Linked DNA regions of Homo sapiens: region 1 is linked to region 2. The links are contacts of gene promoters, found by promoter capture Hi-C in human tissues and cell types (Jung and others, 2019). All regions are on one chromosome and are shown on one strand. The core of a region is centred on a gene start or on the middle of the fragment in contact, and the rest is flanking DNA. Distances in the headings are between cores, read along the strand shown. Region 1 has its middle 39 kb from the start of IRX2-DT. Region 2 holds the start of IRX2 (iroquois homeobox 2).

The links. Contacts are between HindIII fragments. The study calls those that stand out against the background at their distance.
Region 1: a fragment that was not itself captured here is called in contact with the fragment with the promoter of IRX2 in region 2 in 3 of the 25 tissues and cell types used here (IMR-90 fibroblasts, bladder and stomach).

What each region holds. Positions count from the first base shown.
Region 1 is chr5:2,786,970-2,794,501 of GRCh38, reverse strand. It overlaps the pseudogene LOC100130748. Among named protein-coding and RNA genes, the nearest start is that of IRX2-DT, 39 kb to the right of the region's middle. The HindIII fragment of the contact is 4,512 bases long and covers 2,568-7,079 here.
Region 2 is chr5:2,746,577-2,754,182 of GRCh38, reverse strand. IRX2 (iroquois homeobox 2) reads left to right here and starts at 2,506. Exons shown (of 4, transcript NM_033267.5): 1 at 2,506-3,018; 2 at 4,396-4,801; 3 at 5,131-5,838; 4 at 6,567-7,606. The coding sequence starts at 2,770. The coding sequence ends at 6,619. It overlaps IRX2-DT (IRX2 divergent transcript), which reads right to left and starts at 2,290. Exons shown (of 4, transcript NR_122126.2): 1 at 1,719-2,290; 2 at 1,429-1,503; 3 at 828-898. RefSeq lists enhancers at 1,467-2,391, 4,477-5,421, 5,422-6,367. The HindIII fragment of the contact is 21,259 bases long and covers 1-6,519 here.

The DNA of each region.
Region 1 (7,532 bases), core at 3,574-6,073, 38 kb before region 2:
TAAACAATCTAATAGAAGTATATCTGGAGTCCCTGAAACAGAAAAGAGGTCAGAAATACACTTGAATAAATAATGGTTAGTATTTTTCCAAACTGATGAAAACTATGAACACACAGGTAGAATAAACTCACTAAAGCCCAGTCAAATAAGTACAAAGAAAACCCTGCAAGCAGCCAGGGATTAGAGGGTGAGAAAACATGAACAGGGGAGACTAAGATAATAATAATTACACATTGCCTAAGAGAAACAATGAAAGCCAGAAGACAATGAAAACAATCTATAAAGTGCAGCAAAGAAAAAAAAAAGTCAACCTGTAGTTCTATGTCCAGGGATATATTTGTCAAACATAAGGCAAACATTTTTTTTGAGTAAAGAAATCCAATTATCACCATAGATATGAACAACAACGTTAGTAGGAAAAAAAAAACCCACAACTTTATGCTGAAATTAAGCAAAACCAGCTCAGAATTTGGATCTATAAAAATAAATAAAGAGCCTCCAAAATGGTAAATGCGCAAATAAGTATTAAGGTTATTTTTTCCATTTTTGAAATTTTTAGAAATAACTGATCATTTAAAGCAAAAAGTAATACTATATTATGAGGTTTATATGTATAAATAAGATATACGACAATGGGAAATGGAATCACACCCTTATAAAGGTCTTGCATTATATACATAGAGATATAACATTTAAAGGTGTACTTCACTCAGTTAAAGTTTCATGTTGTAAACACTAGACAGCACTAAAATTATATATAATTATAAAGAGGTACAACTAGTAAGATGATAATTCTGATAAATTGGAATAATTTTATAATCTCAATATAGAAAAAGGCAAAAAAAATAAAGACAAAGTAGTAAAAAACAGATGGGACAAATAGTAACAGGCTGATTTAAATCAAATCATAATAATAGTTACACTAAATATAAATGATGTAAAAACATTAATTGAACAGAAGAGATTATTAGATGATAAAAAAGCAATACTCCAATATATCCTATCTGTAAGAAATAAGCTTTAAATATAAAGACAGAACCAGGTTAAAATAAAATGACAGAAAGGAGGATAAAATGCAAAAACTAATCATAAGAAAGCTGAAGTGACTATCTCAGTATCAGACGAAGTAGGCTTTAGGACAAGAAATACTACAATATATAGAAAGACATACAGAATATATTTTATTATAACAAAAAAGTCAATTTAACAAGAAGATATACTCATCCTAAGTTTGTATGTACTTAATAATATGTGTGTTAAAATCATGAGGCATACAATTTCTAGAGTGAAAAAAGAAATAGATACTTTCATGAGTAGAGTTGGTAATATTAGCACTCCTCTCTTAGCAACTAATATAACAAGTGGAGAGAAAATCAGCAAGTACATAGAAGACCTAAACAACACCATCGACCAACTCAAATAAGTTGACCTTTATAGAATCTCCACCATACAATGGCAGAATTCATACCTTCTCAAGTGAACCTGGAGCCTTCTCCAATGTAAACCAAATAATAGGGCATTACATAAGTTTCAATAAGTTTAAGAGGACTGAAATTATACAGAATACATTATCTGACATGATGGCATTAAATTAGAAATAAATAATAAGAAGATATTTTTGAAATTCCTAAGTATTTGGAAATTAAGCAAAATATGTTTCGTTTTGTATTTTTGAGACAGGGTCTTGCTCTGTCCCCAGGCAAGTGGCACAATCTTGGCTTACTGAAACCTCACCCTCCTGGGTTCAAGGGATCCTCCTGCCTCAGCTTCCTGAGTAGCTGGGACTACATGTACATGCCATCACACCTGGCTAATTTTTGTATGTTTTGTAGAGACAAGATTTTGCCATGTTGCCCAGGCTGGTCTCAAACTCCTGGGCTCAAGCAATCTGCCCACCTTTGTCTCCCAAAGTGCTGGGATTATAGGAATGAACCACTGTGCCCAGCATAAAATATGTTTAAATAACCCAATGAATTGAAGATGACAGCAATATTTTAAACTGAATGAAATGAAAACTAAAAATGCAACATGTAAAACTTTGCAGGCTTCAGCTAAAGCAGTTCTTACAACAAAATGTATAGCATTACATGCTTTTTTTGAAAAATGGGAAAAGTCTAAATTCGGTAGTCTAAACCTCTACCTTAAGATACTGATAAAATGAATATCAAAGCAAACTCAAAATAAGAGGAGAAAATAATAAAGATCAGATCTGACATTAATAAAATAAAAATGGAAAAACAATAAAATCAAAAGGTCATTCTTTGAAAGGATCAACAAAATTTATATACTTTCAGTTGACTGAACAAGAAAAAGAGAAGAACAGATATAAATTGCCAGTATCAAGAGTCAATTAATACATACCACTACAGACCCTAGAGTCATAAAAAGGTTATAAGGAAGGATTATAAAGAAATAGACTTACACAAATATATTCAACTACTTAGATAAAGTGGAGAAATTTTTTAAAGATACCACACATAAGAAAAAAATAGAAAATCTGAATAGCTCTGTATCTATCTAAAAAAAAATTTTTTTAAACCTTCCTACAAAGAAAACTCCAGGCTCATATGACTTCAGTAGTAAATTCTATCCATCATTTAAGGAATAAATAATAATACACATTCTCTTTTTAGAAAATAGAGAAGTTTCCTAATTTATTTTATGAGGCCAAACTACCTTGATACCAAATTACCAAAACCAGACAAAAATATCTCAAGAAACATACAGAACAATATCTATCATTGAATATACAAATTCTTTTATAAAATATTAGCAAATTAAACCTAGCAATAAAAATAAAATATATTGTGACCAAGTGGAGCTCATCCCAAAAATTCGGGATTCATTAACATTAAAAAATTCATTAACATGATTCACCATGTTAACAAAATAAAGAAGGAAAACTACACGATTACCTGAATTTATGGAAGAAATAAAAGAAAAGCATTCATCAAAAATCAAGCTCTCAACAAAATCAGGGGAGAAACGGACATCCTCAATCCATAAAGAACATATACACTCAGTCCACAATTAACAACATTTAATGATGAAAAACAATACTTCCCTCCCTATAATCAGGAGCAAGGCAACGTCTGCTCCCACCACTTCTACTAAGCATTGTCCTGGGGCTTCTACCCAGTGCAATAAGGCAAGAAAAAGAAGCAAAAGTCATACACATTGCAAAGAAAGAAATAAAATTGCCTTTATTTGTAAATAACATAATATCTGGATGTAGGAAATTCTAAAAAATCTACGAAAGCTGCTAGAATTAATTGACTAATTTAGCAAGGTCAGATAATAAAAGGTCAATATATAATAATTATATTTCTCTATGCTAGCAATGAGCAATTGGAAAATGAATTTTTTAAAATATCCATTATCAATAGCATCGAAACCTTAACTATGTAGGAATAAATATGTGCCATATTATATGCTAAACTACAGAATATTTCTGGGAGAAATTAAATAAATCTAAATAAATGGGAAGAAATATAATATTCATTGATGGGAAGACTCAATATTGTGATATCAATTTTCCCCCAGTTAATCAATAGAGTCATTGAAATCAAAATCCCAACAGACATTTTAGTAGAAAATGACCAGATTTTTCTAAAACTTCTATGAAAATGCAGATAATCTGGAAGAGCCAGCACAGCTAGGGAAAAGCTGAAGAACTTGCACCAGCTGACTTCCACGTCTGCCCCAGTAACAAAGTCAATGTGGTATCCACTTTGAAAGACACATGCAGATCCATGGAATAAAGTTAATAGCCTACAAATCCATGTGCTCTTAAAGGTTCAGTTGATTTTCCAGTCAAGTTAATGGGGAAAAGATAATCTTTTTAACAAATAGTACTAGGACAACTGGATATCAGCTAAAGTACAAAAACAACAAAAGCAAAACAAACAAAACAGCACCTGTCAAACACATGCAAAAAAACTTGAAATGGGTCATAGTCCTAAATCTAAAATTATAAACTACAAAACTCCTGGAAGAAATAAGGAGAAAATCTTATTTTTGTGACATAGAGGCTAGCACAAATTTCCTGCATATCATGCAAAAAGCTAAACCCCATATTTTTTGAAAAAACTGATCATTTAAACTTAAATTAGAAAGCTTCTGTTCTTAGACTTTTTTTTTAAATGAAAAGGTAAGCCATATATTGGGGGAAATATTCATAATACATGTTTCAGACCAAGGTTCTGTACCCAAAATATATAAAGAACTCTTACAACTTAATAATAAGAATATATTGAAAAACCAGGTTTTTTCAAAATGTTGGCAAGTATTTCAAAATGTCATTTATAAACAAAAGATATATAAATGATCAGTAAGCACATGAGAAAAATGTTTGCCATGTTATCAGAGAAAAGCAAATTAAAATCTCAAGAAGATATAAGCACAAAACCACTAGATTAGCAAAAGTTAAAAAGCTGAAAAATAGCAAGTAGCAAGTGTTGGTATGAATGTTACACCTCACTGGTGGAAATGTCAAGTGAGACAGGCCTTTGGCAAGCAGTTTGGAAGTTTCTTACAAAGTCGAACATTCACTTAGCATATGGCATGGTGCTTGTGTGCCTAGGTATTTGCGTAAGATAAATGAAAACATAATCCAACAAACGCTTGCACATGAATGTTCATAGCAATTTTACTCAACAGCCCCACTAAATCACCACATTGAAAATTATGCCTTAATAATGATGCTTGAAAAAAAATTGTGTTTTTGAATATCATTAGAGAGAGGTTGGAAAGTAACTGAGAAAACATGATCAATTAAAAACAATGGCATTTATGAGGAAAAAATAAAATGGCAAATATAATATCTAGAAATAAATTATTTGGCAGAAAAGAAAAGTGAAACAGATCAGTACTTGTAATAAATATGAGTTCTGTTCATGTAGCAAAAGAGAGAACCTTACAAATTGGGTTAAAAAAATCCAATTCTGCACCAACAGAAGAGACGCACCAAGGCACAACTTTCATATGGAAGTTGAAAAGAATTGGATGGGAAATGGATGCCAATCAAATGCTAATAAAAAGCTAGCAACTGGAGGCATTGACAGAAAATAAATTAGAAGTCGGGGTGAAAATAACAAGGGGGATTAAATTGGTTATTTATATAATAAAGGGAATAATGCATTAAGAAGACATGTCAGTCATAAACTTTTTTGCACATAACAGCTTAAAACACACAATGTACAAAAAGTAGAAAATTCTCAGTCATTGTAAGAGACAGTAACTTAAAATTCAGAAACTAACAGATTAAATAGAAAGAAAGTAGAAAAGTTGAATACCTATATGTAATAAGCTAGGTCTAATTTGCCTTTCAATATTGAACTTGCACAATTAGAGGATTTGTTTTAAGTGTTCAACAGGGGCAGTGACTGGCTTCCAAGCCCACTCACCTGGCTGTTGACCAGCCTCACTCTCCCCACATGAGCTTGTGCACAAGGCGGCCTCACGATCTCCAGGTCGCTGGTCTCAGGGAAACCTTGGCAGCTGGTTTTCCCCAGATCAGTGATTGGAGGATAATGAGAAAGAAAGGAGACTCAAAATGGAAAGTCAGAATCTTTTAATACTTAATGTTGGAAGTGACATTCCATCATTTCTGACATGTTCTGTTCATTAGCAATTAGTGAAGTCTGCTCTCACAGCTGACATGTATATATGTATATATATGCCTTACATGTCTACAGGTGCACATACCTGCGGATGCAGGACTTACACATCTATAGGTGCACACGTATGTTTACATAGGATTTACATGTTTATAGATACACATGCGTGTATATACAGGCATACTTCAGAGATGAGGGCTGGGTTCCAGACCACTGTAATAAATCGAGTCACACAAATTTTTTGTTTTCCCAATGCATATAAAAAGCTGTATTTGGAGGTGCTGGAACCATCCGGGTGCCTCTTGCTCTGCTGCTTTAGCTCCGGAGTGTTTGGCGATGGGGCAGCAGGAGGTGGGGAGGCTCATGTCGAGGTTTAATGCATTCAAAAGGATTAATACCATACTGCACCATTTGAGAATGTCCAAGCACACAGATGCAGCAGAAGACGTGCTATTGGGGGGGGGGAAAGAAACGTGTGCAGATGTATCCATGGCTAGAGAAGTGGGAAGAAGATCCTGAAACTCTCCTGATCATTATAAAGGGAGCCGGAGGAAAGGCTTTCTGTGATGGGAGTGATATTAGAGTCATCTCGGAGGCTGAAAAGGCAAAACGGAAGATAGCGCCAGTTTTCTTCAGAGAAGAATATATGCTGAACAATGCTTTTGGTTCTTGCCAGAAACCTTATGTTGCACTTATTCATGGAATTACAATGGGTGGGAGAGTTGGTCGTCAGTCCATGGGCAGCTTCAAGTGGCTACAGAAAAGTGTCTTTTTGCCATGCCAGAAACCGCAGTAGGGCTGTTCCCTGATGTGGGTGGAGGTTATTTCTTGCCATGACTTCAAGGAAAACTTGGTTACATCCTTGCATTAACAGGATTCAGACTAAAATGAAATGATATGTACAGAGCAGGAATTGCTACACACTTTGTAGATTCTGAAAAGTTGGGCATGTTAGAGGAAGATTTGTTAGCCTTGAAATCTCCTTCAAAAGAAAATATTGCAGCTGTCTTAGAAAATTACCATATGGAGTCTAAGATTGATGAAGACAAGTCTTTTATACTTGAGGAACACATGGGCAAAATAAACAGTTGCTTTTCAGCCAATACTGTGGGACAAATTATTGAAAACTTACAGCAAGATTGTTCATCTTTTGCCCTAGAGCAATTGAAGGTAATTAATAACATGTCTCCAACATCTCTAAAGATCACACTAAGGTAACTCCTGGAGGGGTCTTGAAAGACCTTGCAAGAAGTACTAACTATGGAGTATCAGCTAAGTCAAGCTTGTATGGAGGGTCATGACTTTTATGAAGGTGTCAGAGCTGTTTTAATTAATAAAGACCAGAGTCCAAAATGGAAACCAGCTGATCTAAAAGAAGTTACTGATGAAGATTTGAATAATCACTTTAAGTCTTTGGGAAGCAATGATTTGAAATTTTGAGGTGACAGGCTTTCAGGGTATATTCTGTAGCATGGGTTGGCAATCTGCAGCACGCAGGCCAAATCCAGCCTGCTGCCTACTTTTATATGCACTACAAGCTAAGAATGGTTTCTGCATTTTTAAATGGTTGGGAAAAGAAATCAAAGACTAATATTTAATGAAGTAAAAATTATATGAAGTATCAGAGTTCACAAATAAAGCTTTATTGGAACTAGTTATAAAAAAGTTATATTAATCCTGGCCAGGTGCGGTGGCTCATGCCTGTAATCCCAGCACTTTGGGAGGCCGAGGCGGGTGGATCACGAGGTCAGGAGATCGAGACCCTACTGGCTAACACAGTGAAACCTCGTCTCAACTAAAAATACAAAAAAAATTAGCCAGGTGTGGTGGCAGGTGTCTGTAATCCCAGCTACTGAGGAGGCTGAGGCAGGAGAATGGCATGAACCTAGGAAGTGGAGCTTCATGTAAGCCGAG
Region 2 (7,606 bases), core at 1,257-3,756:
GGGACCCTCCCCGCCACTGCACGTGTCTGGTTATATATTTAATTGATGTCAGAATCGACTGTATCCAGAGCAGACACTCCAGCTCCAAACTGAGGATGTTTGTATAATAACTGGCTGTTTTCTCTTCTGCCCCTGGCAGAGGTCCGGCGGGGGGAGGGGGGTGGGTCAAGGGAGGGGGAGGGAGGATGAGCCCCAAATGCTAATGAAACCACAGCGGGAACCGCTCTTTAGAAATGGAAATACTCCAGGCCAGTGCTCCCTGGTGATAAAAATTACACCCGATTTTTTTTTCATTTAAACTGATCTGATCGTAAAGGAACCCTAAAGGTTGCCATCTGATCTGACAGTGTTTGTGTTTGCCATCCAGCGTGTGGGCCTCTCATTTACCCCTCTTCTTGGAGGAATTCCCTCCCAGGAAGCGCAAAAATGTCGCAGACTGTCGACGGCTTGCCCAACCCGGCTGCTTTCTCTCTCTCTCTGTTTTTCAGCTCTATAGTAATTGATTAAAAATATCTGTCCTGGACTGAATTAGGATGTCCCATGTGGAGTCGCAACAAGGTTGAAACCCCCCGCTGGGTCGTTGCAGGGGGCCCAGCCTGTGGGAACGGGGTGTCTGTGGGTGGAGGGAGAGGTGGTCGTGGGTGTGTGTGCGTGTGCGTGTGTTGAGATGGCCTGAAGAGGATGTGTGCAGGATGGGGGTGTGGTTTGTAGGAAGAGTGGTGGGGGAGCAGTGTGGGCGAAGGGGTGGGTGGGATAACTGGTAGGGGGCGAGTGGCTCGGCTCGGGAGCTCCTGGCGGGAGGGGTAACGTGCCTGGACCGCGCCTACCGGGAGCCTGCCGGCTCAGGAGGAGCCATCCTCAAGCACAGCACTGCAGTTTGCAACTGGTTCCCTTGCACCTGGGGAAAGACAGCCTGATGCCGTGAGTGTTTCTCTTGCGCCCTGGACCAGACTGGCAACCCGGGCTCCGCTCCCTCCGCGCCGCTGCAGCCGCACCACAGGGAGGCCGCAACATGCCCTGCGTCCTGAGATCACTAAGGCTGCTCCGCAGGCTGCAGGGCCAGCAGGGGTGCAGGAGTCGGCTGCAGGCCTGAGCTGAGGCCCGCCCCAGGCCACTGCGCTCTCTCTTCTCCACCGCACCCACCCGAGACGGCTTCCGAGGATAGAGGCACCTGCTGGGTGGGTGCTCCCAATAGGCCAGCACAGACCTGACACTCTTCCATCCCCCTGAGCGCCCCCCATAGGTGACCCTTCGGAGTGGGCAGCCAGACGCCCTCTTCGGCCATCCCCGAGTGGAAAAGGGTTGGAGAAGCGTGATGGGGAGAGGGTTCTAGGAAGCTGGGGTCCTAGGAACCCTCGCCAACCGCCTCGCTTCTGAGCCCCGCAAGGCAACCGCCCCCCTACTCCAGCCGCGCGTCACCTGAGCTACCTGTAATGCCCACTGCACCGGCGGCGCCAACCTGAGCTCCTGCCCGTTCTCGACGTGACTGGGAGGCTTCAGGTCCTGCCAGAGGCGGTTTGTCAGGTAACAATCATCCCCCCAGTGTTTTGACAACACAAATCTGAAAGAGGAGTCAACTTAGAAAAACAAAATAAAATAAAACTCTTTAGGGGACGGCGTCTTCTTAGCTGAAGCCCTGGCGTCATTCCCAACAGTGGAAAGTCGTAACGTTCAGGGCCCCGGGGGTTGCGCTGCGGATTTGGGGGCAGAAAGCTCACCTCAGGGCCCTCCTGGCAATTCGCAACCAAGGCGCCCCGGATCCAGGTCCATGCTGGGCGGAGTGGACCGCGAGGGGTAGGCGACCAGACGCGAGGCCACGCGGGGAGCCTCGGGCCAGGAGGCAGAGCAGGTCCGGGACCGTGGAAGTGAGAGCCGCGCGCACTGCCCGGAGGAAGACCCGAGCCGCGGGCGCCACCATCCTGACCTCCCCACTTCCCTGCGACTTCCGGATTGGACACAGGGGCCGGGCCTCCTCGGGGTGCACAGCGGGGCAGGCTGTGAGTCCCCTAATTGGACCCGGCCTGGCCTGACCGCGGGCGGCCTCTGCCTAGTCCGTGAGGGTGGAGAAGGGGGTGGGGGCGGGGTAGTGGCTGGAAGGGGCGGGGGCCGGGCAGGGGCGAAGACGGTGGCCGGGGACGGTGGGAGCCGGCCGGAGCCGGGCAGGGGACGTGGCTCCGAGTGGATGGGAGTGGGAGGGGTGCGCGCCGGGGCACGCAGCGCGGCCGGGCTGGGCTGCAGGTCCGCGAGCCGCGGGCTGGGGCCGGAGCTGCTAGAGAGGCGGCTGCGCCACAAAAGCCTGCCGGTCCCTCCCGCCGCCCGCCTCCGTCGCCTCCGCCCTCCCCCGCCTCCCTCCCGTCTCTCTGCCCCTCCCCCGGCCGCGGCCCGGAGGCTGCAGCGGGCGGAGCAGGGGAGGGGCGGGCCCCCGAATATGCAGATGAGCGCGTGATGGACAGCTGCGCGTTCCAATGTCCCTCGGAAACTCGAGCGCTCCTTCCTCAACTCCTCACTCCCGACTCCAGACTCCCCCAAACCCCGACCGCCGGCCTGGCGCGCGGCTGCGCCCACCGGCTCCGCGCTGCTGCCGCCGCCACCGCCACCCCGCCGCCGCCCCGGCCCGCGGGCCGCCCAGGCTAGTACCCGGGCCGGCCTGCCTCCGCCGGCCGTCCGGGTGCCCGCCGCCGCGCCGCGCCCCGGCCGGGCGTGGATGGAGGGCGCCGCGCGCCCTGCCCGCTGCTCGGCGTGACGCGGGCCCCGCGCCCCGCGCCCACCATGTCCTACCCGCAGGGCTACCTGTACCAGGCGCCCGGCTCGCTGGCGCTCTACTCGTGCCCGGCCTACGGCGCGTCGGCTTTGGCGGCTCCGCGCAGCGAGGAGCTGGCGCGCTCGGCGTCGGGCTCGGCGTTCAGCCCCTACCCGGGCTCGGCGGCCTTCACGGCGCAGGCGGCCACCGGCTTCGGGAGCCCGCTGCAGTACTCGGCCGACGCCGCCGCCGCCGCCGCCGGCTTCCCGTCCTACATGGTAACCGGGCGCGGGCGGGACGCGGGACTCCTGGGCGCCGGGACCCAGACGGGGCTCAGGCGGAGCGGGGCTCGGGTTCGGCGGGCGGGGGCCGCCGGGAATGTGGCGCGGCTGGCGACTCAGGAGTCGCCGGCTCGGTTGGCCGCCCCGCAGGCTGAGCCGGGCCCCGGGTGGGGAGGGCAGCGCGGCAGGCGGGGACGTCCCTGAGCCCGGCCGGGACCCGCGCGCCCCCCGCGCGTCCCCTCGGCTCGCCGGCTGATTTTCTCTGAGAGCCTGGGAAGTGCGTCTCCGCCGGGGCCGGGGTCTGGCGCCGTTTGTCCCTGGTTTCCGCACCGCAGCCTGGGGAGGCGTTCGGAGCGGGCTGTGTGCTCGCCTGCATTGGCGTGGGGCGCGAGGGTCCGCGTCACTGCGGCCTCTGAGCCGACGGCCGGGCGGTTCGCATTCACTCGCGGGGCTCAGGGCGGTGGGGGTCACCGAGTTAGGCCCAGGAGCCGAGCATTCAGCTGCGGCTCCGGAGTCCGGCCCGAGGCGCCCAGGTTTCGGCCTTACTCTGTCCAGCGGACCATGCTTTCAAATATCGTGCTTGCGGGCGCGTGACCCGCTAAGGGCCGCCTGAGTCCTCCGTGGCCCGAGCGCAGCTCCTGCTCCGGCGACCTGGGGGCGGCTCGCGAGTCTCGAGGTTACTGAGCTGGGCCAGGCCCGGGCCGCGGCGAAGCACGTTACGGGCGATTGAGGCCATTACGGGGTTGTCGCGACTGCCGGCCCTCGGCGGAATTTCTGGGCAGCGACCGAGTCGCTGGGGCCTTGGCGAAGGCTGCAAATGCCTCGAATTTAAACGTTAAAGGATGAATTAAAATGCTAATTACGGCGTATTTGAAGAATTCGAAACGGTGACTGGCTTCTGAGTTGCAAATTGGATTTGCCCAGCTTTAGAGCAGTGAATAGTGAATTGGGGGCTCTGGGGTGTTTTTTTAACCATATAAGGGAGGGGAAGAGGGAGTAGGGGGAGGCAGCCGCACTCCAAGCATCTGCAGAAATTTAGATATCAAAGAGCTACCTGTGGGCCTGTGTGCGCGCACGTGCAAGGGTTTGTGTACATTGCCACGAGCGGCTCCGGAACACTTAGGGGAAGATGGGTCATTTTAGGAAAGTGAAATAGTTCAGAAATTCGAGAATAAAACTCCGGTACTTTTTGTGATCAACAGCTGGTCCCGAATCACACTGCGTTTTTCCTGCTCTTTTGCGGCGGGAAGCGCAGCCCCAGAGCCAGACTCACGGGGGGAACGGTGGCCGTGGGCGGGCGGAGGGGTGGCATCCTCTGGCTGGTTGCCCGCGGGGTCTCCGCATACTCCACTCACAGGCTCTTGTTGGTTCCAGGGCGCACCCTACGACGCGCACACCACCGGCATGACCGGCGCCATCAGCTACCACCCGTACGGCAGCGCGGCCTACCCGTACCAGCTCAACGACCCCGCGTACCGCAAGAACGCCACGCGGGACGCCACGGCCACTCTCAAGGCCTGGCTCAACGAGCACCGCAAGAACCCCTACCCCACCAAGGGCGAGAAGATCATGCTAGCCATCATCACCAAGATGACCCTCACCCAGGTCTCCACCTGGTTCGCCAACGCGCGCCGGCGCCTCAAGAAGGAGAACAAGATGACCTGGGCCCCGAGAAACAAAAGCGAAGATGAGGACGAGGACGAGGGCGACGCTACCAGAAGCAAGGACGAGAGTCCCGACAAGGCGCAGGAGGGCACGGAGACCTCGGCAGAGGACGAAGGTGAGCGGGCAGCGGCCGGCGCAAGGTCTCGGGGCGCTTTCTTCCCAGGCGGGGCGCAGAGCTAAGGCGGGGAGGACGTTGCCCGCCGGACACCCCAGGTCCGGGCCGGAGCCCCAGCCGCACCACATTGCCCTGGGGTCGCCGGGATTTGAGCGAGCGATTCCTCGGGCCCTTCCCGGGGAGGTCAGGCTCCGCCTGTCACGTGGCCGGGTGGGGGCGAGGTGAGGGGTCCCGTGGGGAGGGCCCAGTGCCGCAGGACAGGGGGCGGAGGGGGCTCCAGGTGCCTGCGCTGTCCCCTCGTGCCACCCACCGTGCCCGCGCCCCCACAGGGATCAGCCTGCACGTGGACTCGCTCACGGATCACTCGTGCTCGGCCGAGTCGGACGGGGAGAAGCTTCCGTGCCGCGCCGGGGACCCCCTGTGCGAATCGGGCTCGGAGTGCAAGGACAAGTATGACGACCTGGAGGACGACGAGGACGACGACGAGGAGGGCGAGCGGGGCCTGGCGCCGCCCAAGCCCGTGACCTCGTCGCCGCTTACCGGCTTGGAGGCGCCGCTGCTGAGCCCCCCGCCCGAGGCCGCGCCCCGCGGTGGCCGCAAGACGCCCCAGGGCAGCCGGACGTCTCCGGGCGCGCCGCCCCCCGCCAGCAAGCCCAAGCTGTGGTCGCTGGCCGAGATCGCCACGTCGGACCTCAAGCAGCCGAGCCTGGGCCCGGGCTGCGGGCCACCGGGGCTGCCCGCGGCCGCCGCGCCGGCCTCAACCGGGGCACCGCCAGGAGGCTCGCCCTACCCTGCCTCGCCGCTGCTGGGCCGCCCCCTCTACTACACGTCGCCCTTCTACGGCAACTACACAAACTACGGGAACTTGAACGCGGCGCTGCAGGGCCAGGGTCTCCTGCGGTACAACTCTGCGGCCGCGGCCCCCGGCGAGGCCCTGCACACCGCGCCAAAGGCGGCCAGCGACGCGGGCAAGGCGGGCGCGCACCCGCTCGAGTCCCACTACCGGTCCCCGGGCGGCGGCTACGAGCCCAAGAAAGGTAGGCGGCCCGCGGCCGGCGGCGCCCGGGAGGGGAGGGAGAGCCAGCCCCGGGGAGGCGGAGCGCCCGGGAGACCCGAGGGAGGGTCCGGGAAGAAGATCCAGGGGGCCACTCCTGGGACCCAGAATTAGCAGAGTGAGGGCGGAGGGCGAGATGGAAGCCAAAGAAGGTGTGGCCCTCTTTTTAGACTTGCCCTGTTATTATTTATTTTTACTTAATTTACTGTTATTTTGACTATTACTATCGTGGCTGTCTTAGTTTCGGCAAACCCAGATTGCCACGAAATTCAAATTACAGCGTGTCGCCCTAATGAGCCTGGGTGTGTTTCGGTGTCTTGTTAAGGAGTCAGAGTTGAATCCGCTTTTCTGCCGTTGGCTAGAGGCAAACAGAACGTTCCAGTTACTCTCAGAGGCGTTTTGTCTTCAAAAGATAAAATCAAATGTTTTTTCCGCTTTTTGTTGTTGTCGTTGTTCGGAAAGAAAACCGTTTTTTCCCCTGTGCTATGTTGCCTGTGTTGCTCCTAAGTCAGGCTACCCGAAAGAGGAGTTCAAGGGGGGAAGTTAAGAACTAGGGACCATCACCAAAAGTCGTCTCAGATAGCGGCCCTGGAGACAGTCGGTTTCCCAAACTGCTGTTTGCCTGGGAGTGGAGGATGGTGGGTGCACGGTGGTCTGCGCAGCCAGCAGGCTGTGGGGTCGGTTCTGACTAACTGCCCACTCCCCTGACAGATGCCAGCGAGGGCTGCACCGTGGTTGGCGGGGGCGTCCAGCCCTACCTATAGAAGGGCCGAGCACAGCAATGCAAGTAAGTGGGCACCCTGGTGCTTCCCAGACCCTGTGGAGCCTCCCAGCACCAACTTGCTTAATGTGTTTTTCTTGCTTCTGGTCATGGGGTTAGAAGACAGAGCATTTCAATCTTGTCCAGCTTTTCTTTCCTTAAGGGGGAAACTATATTTTCTGTTTTATAGATTCCCTCTTTTTGGCACAAGTTCTATCACTCCTTTACCTAGGGAAGGAAAAAAAAAATATATATATATATGTGTGTGTGTGTGTGTGTAATATATATATGTATATATATAGTACATGTATATATATAGTACATGTGTATATATATATTACACACTACTGTTGTTTTCTTTTGAAACAATAGATTATTAAAATCTGGGCATTTATATGCAATTTAGAGCCATTTTTACTATGCTAGACACATAATAGACACATGCTTTGATGAGCTTGGGCTACCAAAACTTGGAGTAGCAAAAACCTTTATAGATGATGTTTGCAAAATAAGACTGAAGAGACACGAGGCGTACTAGTCTTTTATCAGCCCTGTCCAACCTCCCCTCCACCCATGTCCAAGTGGACAGGACTCTGACATTCTCCCGGGGCTCACAACAGTATCTCAAAAAATATGTTGCTTTGCAACGAGTCAGAATTACTAATCATAGATCTTGAAGATAAGAAAGATTTGGAACCACTTCAGATCAACTCGTTTTTATAATGGTGTTGTTGTGGAACTGAAAGATTGGGGATGATTTGGTTTTTTCCTTGGTCCACAGGTAGGTGTCACAATTGCTTTGAAAAAAAAAAAAAAAAAAAAGTCAGCAGGCCATTCTCTCTTCCCAAGCTCATAAATTTACAGATACAACAAACAGATGTCTAAATCCAGACCACATCTTGTGCCACTGTAAAAGAGAAGGATCCACACAGCACTGTCAGCCCACAGACTCTAACAATTGGAACAGACTATTGTTGGACATATGTGAATT